3 separate regions of the Homo sapiens genome follow, and regions 1 and 3 are each linked to region 2. The links are contacts of gene promoters, found by promoter capture Hi-C in blood cells and fetal thymus (Javierre and others, 2016). All regions are on one chromosome and are shown on one strand. The core of a region is centred on a gene start or on the middle of the fragment in contact, and the rest is flanking DNA. Distances in the headings are between cores, read along the strand shown. Region 1 overlaps LSM11 (LSM11, U7 small nuclear RNA associated). Region 2 holds the start of FAM114A2 (family with sequence similarity 114 member A2). Region 3 has its middle 2.4 kb from the start of CLINT1.

The links. Contacts are between HindIII fragments. The CHiCAGO score rates a contact against its expected background, and 5 or more counts as called.
Region 1: a fragment that was not itself captured here is called in contact with the fragment with the promoter of FAM114A2 in region 2 in 2 of 17 cell types (non-activated CD4 T cells and naive CD8 T cells); the score reaches 7.2 in non-activated CD4 T cells.
Region 3: a fragment that was not itself captured here is called in contact with the fragment with the promoter of FAM114A2 in region 2 in 2 of 17 cell types (naive CD8 T cells and non-activated CD4 T cells); the score reaches 5.8 in naive CD8 T cells.

The regions. Positions count from the first base shown.
Region 1 is chr5:157,745,395-157,748,300 of GRCh38, forward strand. All of the region lies in intron 1 of LSM11 (LSM11, U7 small nuclear RNA associated), which reads left to right. Among named protein-coding and RNA genes, the nearest start is that of LSM11, 3.1 kb to the left of the region's middle. The HindIII fragment of the contact is 899 bases long and covers 944-1,842 here.
Region 2 is chr5:154,037,594-154,040,684 of GRCh38, forward strand. It overlaps FAM114A2 (family with sequence similarity 114 member A2), which reads right to left and starts at 1,317. Exons shown (of 14, transcript NM_018691.4): 1 at 1,264-1,317. MFAP3 (microfibril associated protein 3) reads left to right here and starts at 1,374. Exons shown (of 3, transcript NM_005927.5): 1 at 1,374-1,418. The HindIII fragment of the contact is 2,878 bases long and covers 1-2,374 here.
Region 3 is chr5:157,860,032-157,863,081 of GRCh38, forward strand. No RefSeq gene overlaps it. Among named protein-coding and RNA genes, the nearest start is that of CLINT1, 2.4 kb to the left of the region's middle. The HindIII fragment of the contact is 5,007 bases long and covers 1-3,050 here.

The sequences.
Region 1 (2,906 bases), core at 143-2,642, 3.7 Mb after region 2:
CATCCCTGCCCAAGCTAGGATTTACCCCGGCCTGCTTGCCTGGCTGTAACACAAAGACAGTATGCTTGTTCCCAAAATGAGAGCAGTTTGGGGGACCTTAATTTGCCTATGCAATTTGCCACCATTAGGTAGTTGAAATGCACTCCAAGTCTCATTGCAACATTTATTTCTATTTTACCAGTTATTGCTTTGCTACCAAGATTGTCAAGGGAAAGGAATATTCCTGTGTATTGCTATGTGGTGGGTGGTTTTAGCTTTCCCTATAGAGCACTTTACTGTAATGGTATGACAGTGTGTGAAGACCAGCTTTGTCAACTTCTTATGATTAAGTATATATCCCTGGAATCAAGATCTCAGAGAATATGCCCTACATACTGAAAATTTTCACCATGGCACTGCAGACAGTTGAGTGTACATGAGAGAAAGGCATTGACGTCGCACAGAGTTGATGACCTTCAGAAAGCAAGAAAACAACAGAAACATGGGTGAGGATTGGATTCATTCAAGAAAGAGTTCCTACTTGAGGGTGAAGGGTGGGAGGAGGGTGAGAATCACAAAACTACCTATTGGGTACTGTGATCACTACCTGGGTGACAAAATAATTTGTGCACCAAACCCCAGTGACACACGATTTACACCTGCAACAAACCTTTCGTGTACCTCCTGATCCAAAAACAAAAGTTGGAAGGGGGGAAAAAAAAGAACTAGGTATGTTTTATATGTATGCCACAGTTTTAATTTAAAAAAATATATGCCTACTCTAAACTCTGATTGGATACAGTTGCTCAGGAAAATCAAAATATAGATACCAGTAAGATAATACTATTTGTGGACATATACAAATGCTTTCTGGAAAAAAATGCCTATGCATTTGAGAATGCATAATCCTTTGCAAAATATTCACATAAAATGTAAGTTCCATCAGGCTGTAACAGCAAGAAGAAGCTTTGTTAGGTCATATCATCAGTGAAACATAATGAAGAATACATGAGGAGCTACATTTTGTCGCTGACTTTAAAATGATGTATTTCATCAATTCAGATCCAAGTTACCCATCCAAATTCACAGAGAGGACAGTGTGGAATGTTTATGAAAAAACAAGGAGTGCAAAATTAAGTGTAATGGTGTTTTAACTGTAAAATATTTCACTTTGTATCTCTGTCATAGAATCTCTTTGAATTCCCTTGTGGAGCAGTTGTATTCTTTTCCTTGCAGTAATAAAATTTTAAAAGTAGCCAGGCACAGTGGCTCACACCTGTAATCCCAGCACTTTGGGAGGCCGAGGCGGGCAGAACACTTGAGGCCAGGAGTTCAAGACCAGCCTGGCCAACGTGGTGAAACCCTGTCTCTACTAAAAATACAAAAATTAGTTGGGCATGGCAGCATCTGCCTCTAGTTCCAGCTGTTCAGGAGGATGAGGCACGAGAATCGCTTGAACCCTGTAAGTGGAAGCTGCAGTGAGCCGAGATCATAGGGACATCATAGAGACCTCTACAGAGGTGATACGAGGTCTCAAAAAAAAGTAATAATAAAAGTATAGGAGGCTGTTGCAATACTGGGAATACTAAAGAAGAAAAAAAGCATAGGAGGAAAGGTTTTTCGTCATCATTAAGCCTAAGCCATCACTGATACCAACAAAGAACTCACACACAAGCTGTACTTGCAAGTGGAATGCAATTGCTTTTCCTCCTTTTTAATATTGACATGCCTATAGAGATGGTAAGACAAGACTAAAGAGCATTATCCTCTTTTCCACATAATTCTAGTGTCTATATTTCTCCTTAGTATCGCAGCACCATACCTAGCCCACGGTGGTTCTGGTTTATAATTGTGCTTCAAGCAAGCTTTTTCTAGGTATATCTGTCACTGTGAAATGAACTGGTGTGTTCAAGCTCACGTCTTGACATTATAAAGCTGTAAGAAAAAGTGTTATCATTACTTTGTTTTAGCTACAGGTGTGTTGGTGTGCAGCCTGTGCCGGTGTGAACAAGTGTGTGTGGTCAATCCAAAATGCATATGACATGCAGGGTTTGGCTCCTAGACCATTGTCTAGGTGAATGGCTTGTCTCCAGTTCCAAATTCAGTTTTCCTGCAGGGAGCCTACACAGTCCTTTTACTCGCACACATCCTGCTGAGAAGGATTTCAAAACAAACCTGATTTATTGGGCCTCTGACGTGATACCATGATTGAAAATTTGTTTGAGTCCTGTTGTTGTAGTTTACTTTGATTGCTGAAATAATTTCCCACAATATGGTGTCTTGATGTTTTCATTTTAATAAAGTGATATTCTTTGGATAACTTTGACTTCACTTCCTGCAAATAAAGAGCAAGAAAATAGGCAAAATCAAGAACATCTGAGCCCTGTGTACAGCAGTAAAATGAACTCTCAAATTTGAACAGCATCTCTGTTACACAGAGGTTGCCAAAAGGGCATGAGTATGACTTACATAAAACCGAGAACAGCGGTACTTAGGCTTCAGAAAAGGCCAAGCTTAAAATTCAGCCTTGTCACTTTTCTCAGCTCATTGCAGCTGTTTCCAGTCAGCTGTCTCCAGTGCAACTAAGGAATAGTCTCAGATGATTTCTGCACCACACTGCTGTGTGTGTGTGTGTGTGTGTGTGTGTGTGTGTGTTTAGGCCAGTTTGACATAGCATCACAATAGGGAAGACACTGATGTGCCTTTGCCGGGTCACTGATTCAAACATTGTACTTTCAATCTGTCATGGCACCCTTCTATAGAATGGCAACTAAAACTATTTTCAGAGAAAAGAGAAAATATTTTTCCATTGCAGACTCATAAGGTGACTGTTACAGTTTGTGGTTTCATTTCTCTGGGCCCTTAATAGGTTATGGAATCTGGGGAGCTGCCTTTGCCCTAATGAGCTAATAACTTTGTATATTTGG
Region 2 (3,091 bases), core at 67-2,566:
TCCAGGTTGCAACGCATCATTATCATCATCATAAATATATACAGTATACTATATGTAGAATATATAATATACATATTACATAAATTCATATAATTCCATGAAAGACTGGAAGGACATACTCCAAAATATATTTTTAAAGACAGGGTCTCGCTATGTTGGCCAGGTTGGTCTTGAACCCTAGGCCTGGCCTCAAGCAATCTTCCCCTGCCTCAGCCTCCCAAAGTGCTAAAATTACAGGCGTGAGCCACCATGCCCTGCCAAAACAGTCCCTTTACTAAAATATTAAACACTGGTTATCTCTATTCTTTCATTTGTGCCAGATATTTGAGCTAAGCCAGAAGAGAATTTTTTATGGTGATGGTTGTTTATATTATCATTACTATCGTTATTAGAATGACTGTACCATCTCTTTCCTCAACTCATTCATAATCTAGGAGAAAGGTTAAAAAAAAAAAAGGAATAAACACCAAGTACGTGGAACTGCACTATTTAGTGTTTTTGTAAGTCTTCCAGGCATTGTGTAGTAAGCGTGTAGAAATAATTGTAGTTTCTCCTCCAGTTATTTTCTCAGTTGGAGGAGAAAGATTCCAATAACTGTAAATAAATACGGCTGAGCCATATTTTTAAGAAATAAAAACGCATACGCTTACACACACACATATATATTACGTATATATACACTCCACCCGCCCCATTTACCAAAATGAAGAGCAGTACAGCTTAGTAGCTAAGAGCACGGGCTCTGGAGTTTACTTTCTTCCTGTCCTGCAGCGATTGTGGGGAAGTCAGGTCACCTGTCTGCCTCTCCGTTTCCTCATCTGTCAAATGGAGTTCTGGGTCCCTATAAAGATTCAGTGACGCGATATGTGAGGGGCTTGGAACAGTGACCGGCACGTAACCGCCCACAGGTTAACAGCTGCTATCACTTGGTGGGGTGATGGTTTGTATCCTATCGTTATTAATACGGCTGTCTCTAGATGAGCAAACATGCGCTCTCACTTCTTCCCACATTCAAGAATGGGGTCCCAAACGAGAGATTCGACGTAAACGTCCGCTCCCAACTAAGTTCTCAGGCGCTGACAACGACAAGAATTCCTCACACAAACGTAGCGCTTCAATCACTAAACCGCTTTCACAGCCCTCGACCCTGCCGCGAGATGTCCGCCGCCCACCGTCAGGTCACCGCCTCCCTAACGACTTCGGCTGCCCGGGCCCTGCCCCTGAACCTCGCACCCCTCCTGCCTCGTTCAGGAAGCTCCGCACCTATCCGGCCGCCACCCTCAGCACAGCCACGGCAGCCGACTCGGCGTTCCTACTGCCCCGGAAGTGCTCCTTCAGCGCAGAGGCGTGCCGGTGTGTCCGAGAAAACTTCCGAGTTAAGCCGCCGCTGAGGCCGGAAGGAGCTAGACGGCGGTCGGGTAGGTGACGGCTTGGTTGGGGTCGCTGCGAGGGGACTACTAGGAGCGCCGAGGCGTGAGTCGTAGCCTGTGGCTTGGGGTCGGGAGTGCAGGAGGCGAAAATGTTTGCCATTCTTTTGAAAGTCTGGCCTGGGTGTGGGAGTTCGGTCATCGAACACTTACTGAGAGCCAGATACCTGCCAGGCACTGCCCTGGGCTCCAGGGACACATCAGTCAACGAACGGAAGGGCCCTGCTCTCAAGCAGTGCGAAAAGCAGATTATAAACAAGTCAACAAACGGGATTATCTAAGGTGGTAGTAAGTGCTGTAAAGAAATTTAGACTGGATAATGTGATGGAACGAAGTGGGAGAGTAATAAGCCGTATGAAAATCTGGAATAGAGCATTCCAGGCAGAGAGAATAGCGCGTGCAAAGGCCATATAGTGGGAACAAACTTAGCAAAGTCAAGGAAAAGACAAAGGCCACTGGCTAGAGCAAAAGGAGCAAGGTGAGAATGGAGAGAGATGAGGCCAGGGACTTGAGCCCAAATCTTGTAAGGCTTATGAGCAAGGATAAAGAGTTTGATTTTTGTTTGGAATCCAGTGGAAAACCATTGAAGGTTTCTAAGCAGATGAATGACATGATCTGATTTATGACTCTAAGATTACTCCTGGGACCTCATCAGAAAGATGCAACTCTTCTGTTGCCCTCGAGCAGTGAAAATGCATGAAATCCAGACTGACAGAGCTAGTAAAATATTAAAATCAATCTTATTGTACAGATAAGAAAAACTGAATCCCAGAGAGGTGAAGGGACTTAGCCTTTAAGAACTCATGTTTTCCAACTCCATTTAATGCCCTCGGAATTATCATCTTAATTCCCAGATAAGAGTAATTGTCACTTCTAAAACTCTTCAGATATTTTCCTTTGCTTTTGACAGTGGTTCTCTAAATTTAGGTTCATCAATATCACCTGGAAGCTTGTTAAAATTCCAAAAAACAACAACAAAAAAACCCCTGCTTAAATATAAAATGGATCATTTCCTCTGATTTTCTGTTGTAATGGAAAATGCATAGAATTTGGGGCTAAAGTATGGAATCTTGGGAAGCCACTTATTTTTTAAATGCTGCTGATAATTATAGCAGCAGTTCTCAAACTTTTTGATCTTAGAATTTCTTTATACTTTTAAAATGTATTGAGAACTTCAAAGGGTTTTTGTTTATAATAGCTATCAATATTTACTATTTTAGAAAACAACTTTCAACAAAGGTTATTCATTTTAAAATAAACTCATTATATGTTAACATAGATAGCATTTCTGTAAAGGATATTTTCCAAAATGAAAAATTATTGAGAATGGCATTGTTTTACATTGTTACAAATCTCTTTAATGTCTGGCTGAATAAAAGACAGCTAGATTTTCGTAACTTCTACCTTCATTCTCTTACAATATCAATCATCATGTAACTTTTAGAAAATTGTGCCATATTGTGTGAGAATGTGAGTGAAAAAGGGATATGTCCTAATATTATGTAAATTGTTTTGAAACAGTGTCAGGGACACCCAGGAGTTCCTGCACCACACTTTTGAGAATTACACTGAATTACGGTGATTGTCATGCCAGTAAAAGAAATATGAGTTTGATTTGTAAATCAATAAACCTATATGCACATTAAAAATGCAGATGCCCAGGC
Region 3 (3,050 bases), core at 534-3,033, 3.8 Mb after region 2:
CAGCTCTCTTGGAATTCAAACGTAATTGGAAGAAACATATAATAATCAAGGAAACATTTAAGATAATTGCATATAGTGTAATTGCTTAGCGGGTTCTTTCTGCCCACTTTACAGATAAAGTCAATTCACTGCGACCAAGTCATTGCAGTGAAGAGTTTGACATGAGGCTGGCCATGCCACTTGAGAGACAGAGTTATTACTCAAATCAATCTTCCTGAACATTTGGAAGCTAGAGTTTTTCAAAGATAGTTTGGTGAGCAGAGGGTTAGGGCATGGGTGCTGCTGATTGGTTAGGGATGCAATCAGAGGAGTATGGAAAATGGTTCTCCTTTGCTGAATCGGCTTCTTGATGGAGGGCCAGCAGAGGAGTGGCTGGTCTGGGTGGGGTCATCCGTTTGTCAGAAATGCAAAAGCCTGAAAAGACGTCTTAAAAGGCCAATCTTAGGTTCTACAATAGTTCATTACAGGCCAGGCACAGTGGCTCACGCCTGTTATCCCAGCATTTTGGGAGGCTGGGAGGCCAAGGCAGGAGGATCACTTGAGCCCAGGAGTTTGAGACCAGCCTGGGCAGCAAAGTGAGATCCCCCTGCCAGCCCAGTCTTTAAAAAAAAAAAAAAAAAAAAAAAAAAAGCCAGGCGTTGGGGCACACTCTTGTGAGGCCAGCTACTTAGGAGGTTGAAATGGAAGGATCCCTCGAAAGGATCAAATAAAGACTCCAATTCACAAAGAAGTGAAATTGATGGTTGCTAGTCATGAAGCTAGGTAACAATAATCCCAAATAAACAACCTCGGACCCTGGTCCCTCAAGTGAAACCACCTCTTTTCTATTTTCTTTTTCTTTTTCTTTTTTTTTTTTTTTGAGCTGGAGGTCTCACTCTGTTGCCCCAGCTGATCTGAAACTCCTGGGCTCAAGCAATCCTCCCACCTCAGTCTCTCAAGTAGCTGAGACTACAGGAAACCCTCTCCAAGTTGCATTCACTTAATTACCGAAAGCAGCTTTGAAAAAAGTTTCAGTAAGGCTTTCGGATTGAGGCCCCAAGAGAAAGAAGCAAGGTTGAAGGAATTGACAGGCAGAAAATTACAACAAGCAGAAATCCAAAGTTATCTCAGAGCTTTGTAATGGTAGGAGTACTTGGGCTGATATGAAGTGAGTTGGAGAGGTGGGTGGGGAGAGGCAGGTAAAGATGAGCAGAGATGGGTAGAGGAATAGGGCTTTCAAATAAGAAGTTTGTGTTTTTTTGTTGAAAAGACTATCCAGCTCAAGATCCCAGAGATGGAATGTGGCCAGAGGAGATAAGAAAGAGAAACTACTTTGCATAAATAAGAGCTCAGCAAGTTAACTTTCAAACAAGTGAGTCCAGAGTACACCTGCAGAACGGGCCTGGCCCAGAAACAACCACCTTCCCTCCCCTGGGCCTGTTTGGGTGTTCACAGCAGGGCACTGTCAGCCTCTTTGCTCATTCCAAAACCAAGTTTGCATACGTCTAGACCCATCCTAGAGTTGTCACCTGTGACATTTGCACAGTCAGCTGGAGCCATCTGGAATGTAAAGCCAAAAAATCTGCCTGTCCGCTTCTAATTCAAGAGAGCCTTTAAAGGACTCAGAAAAATCAGACCCGGAGACTTTGTTAAAAAGTGATCTCCAGAGACTATTTGCATTTCAACAAAGTGTTCCATTTTTACCTTTTATCTTGCAAGTTCGAGAGCAGTTTCCATAGTAACTTCTTTGTGGCAATTCAAATATGTTCATGGTAGAAAAATAAATGAGAAAATGCTCCACCCACTCTTCTTCAGGAAAACATATATTTTTTACTAAATGAGCTGACACTTTTAGTAAGGCCAAACCAACACACGTTTTGAAGGAAAAAAAAAAAAAAAAGGCCGGATGTGGTGGCTCACGCCTGTAATCCCAGCACTTTGAGAGGCCAAGGTGGGTGGATCACCGGAGGTCGGGAGTTCGAGACCAGCCTGACCAATATGAAGAAACCCTGTCTCTACTAAAAATACAAAATTAGCTGGGCGTGGTGGCGCATGCCTGTAATCCCAGTTACTCGGGGGGCTGAGGCAGGAGAATCGCTTGAACCCGGGAGGTGGAGGTTGCAGTGAGCTGAGATCGCATACGAAACTCATCTCAAAAAAAATATATATATACATATATACTCAGTTATGTTAATGATGTGTGTTGTGAGAAGCAGTGTAGACAATGGACACTGACTGCTTATTTCATGCGGTCACCTCCCTAGAGTTCCCTTGGGGGAGTTTAATTCATGGTACATGGGTATGGCAGCCATGGAAAAGCACCATTCAGACCTACTTTCAAGAGAACCAGTTGCAAGGAGTGTGGTTGACTGACAGCTTCCTGCTGTCTTCCTCTGGGATCATTTATGCCAACGGCATACTCTCTGTAGGGCTATTCCCAGCAATGACTGAGAAAGGTGTGCTGGAGCCAGGCCATTTCTGCCCAGTGCTGGACTCCTTCACCGGGCAATCATTGACCTGGGCTTCCCATCGACTTGGCCCAGATTTCCTCAAAGCCTTGCTGCAATCAGATACTCTTCCTACCCAATCTTCCTTCCTTCCTTCTCTTCCTTGACAGGTGTCAGAACTTCCTTGTGGTCTCAGACCCTTACCACCTGCTCTTGCTCTCGCTTCCCTTTTTCCTTCATAGGCATTTCCCCTAATATATCTTATACTTCTAATTCCATCTTGGCTTCTGTTTCCTGTAGTACTCAAACTGACACAGCAGGTGAACATTTGCACCTTGGTTTCAGTATTTGGACTCACGAGTCTTGTTTTTGATCACACCTGACTGTTCATCTCCAGAGGTCAGAATATTGGTTTCTTTCTTTCTTTTTTTTTTTTTTTGAGATGGAGTCTCGCTCTGTCACCCAGGCTGGAGTGAAGTGGTGCAATCTTGGCTCACTGCAACCTCCGCCTCCTGGGTTCAAGCAATTCTCCTGTCTCAGCCTCCCGAGTAGCTGGGATTACAGGCATCTGCCACCAAGCCCAGCTAGTTTTTTGTATCTTTAGTAAAGACAGGGTTTCACCAT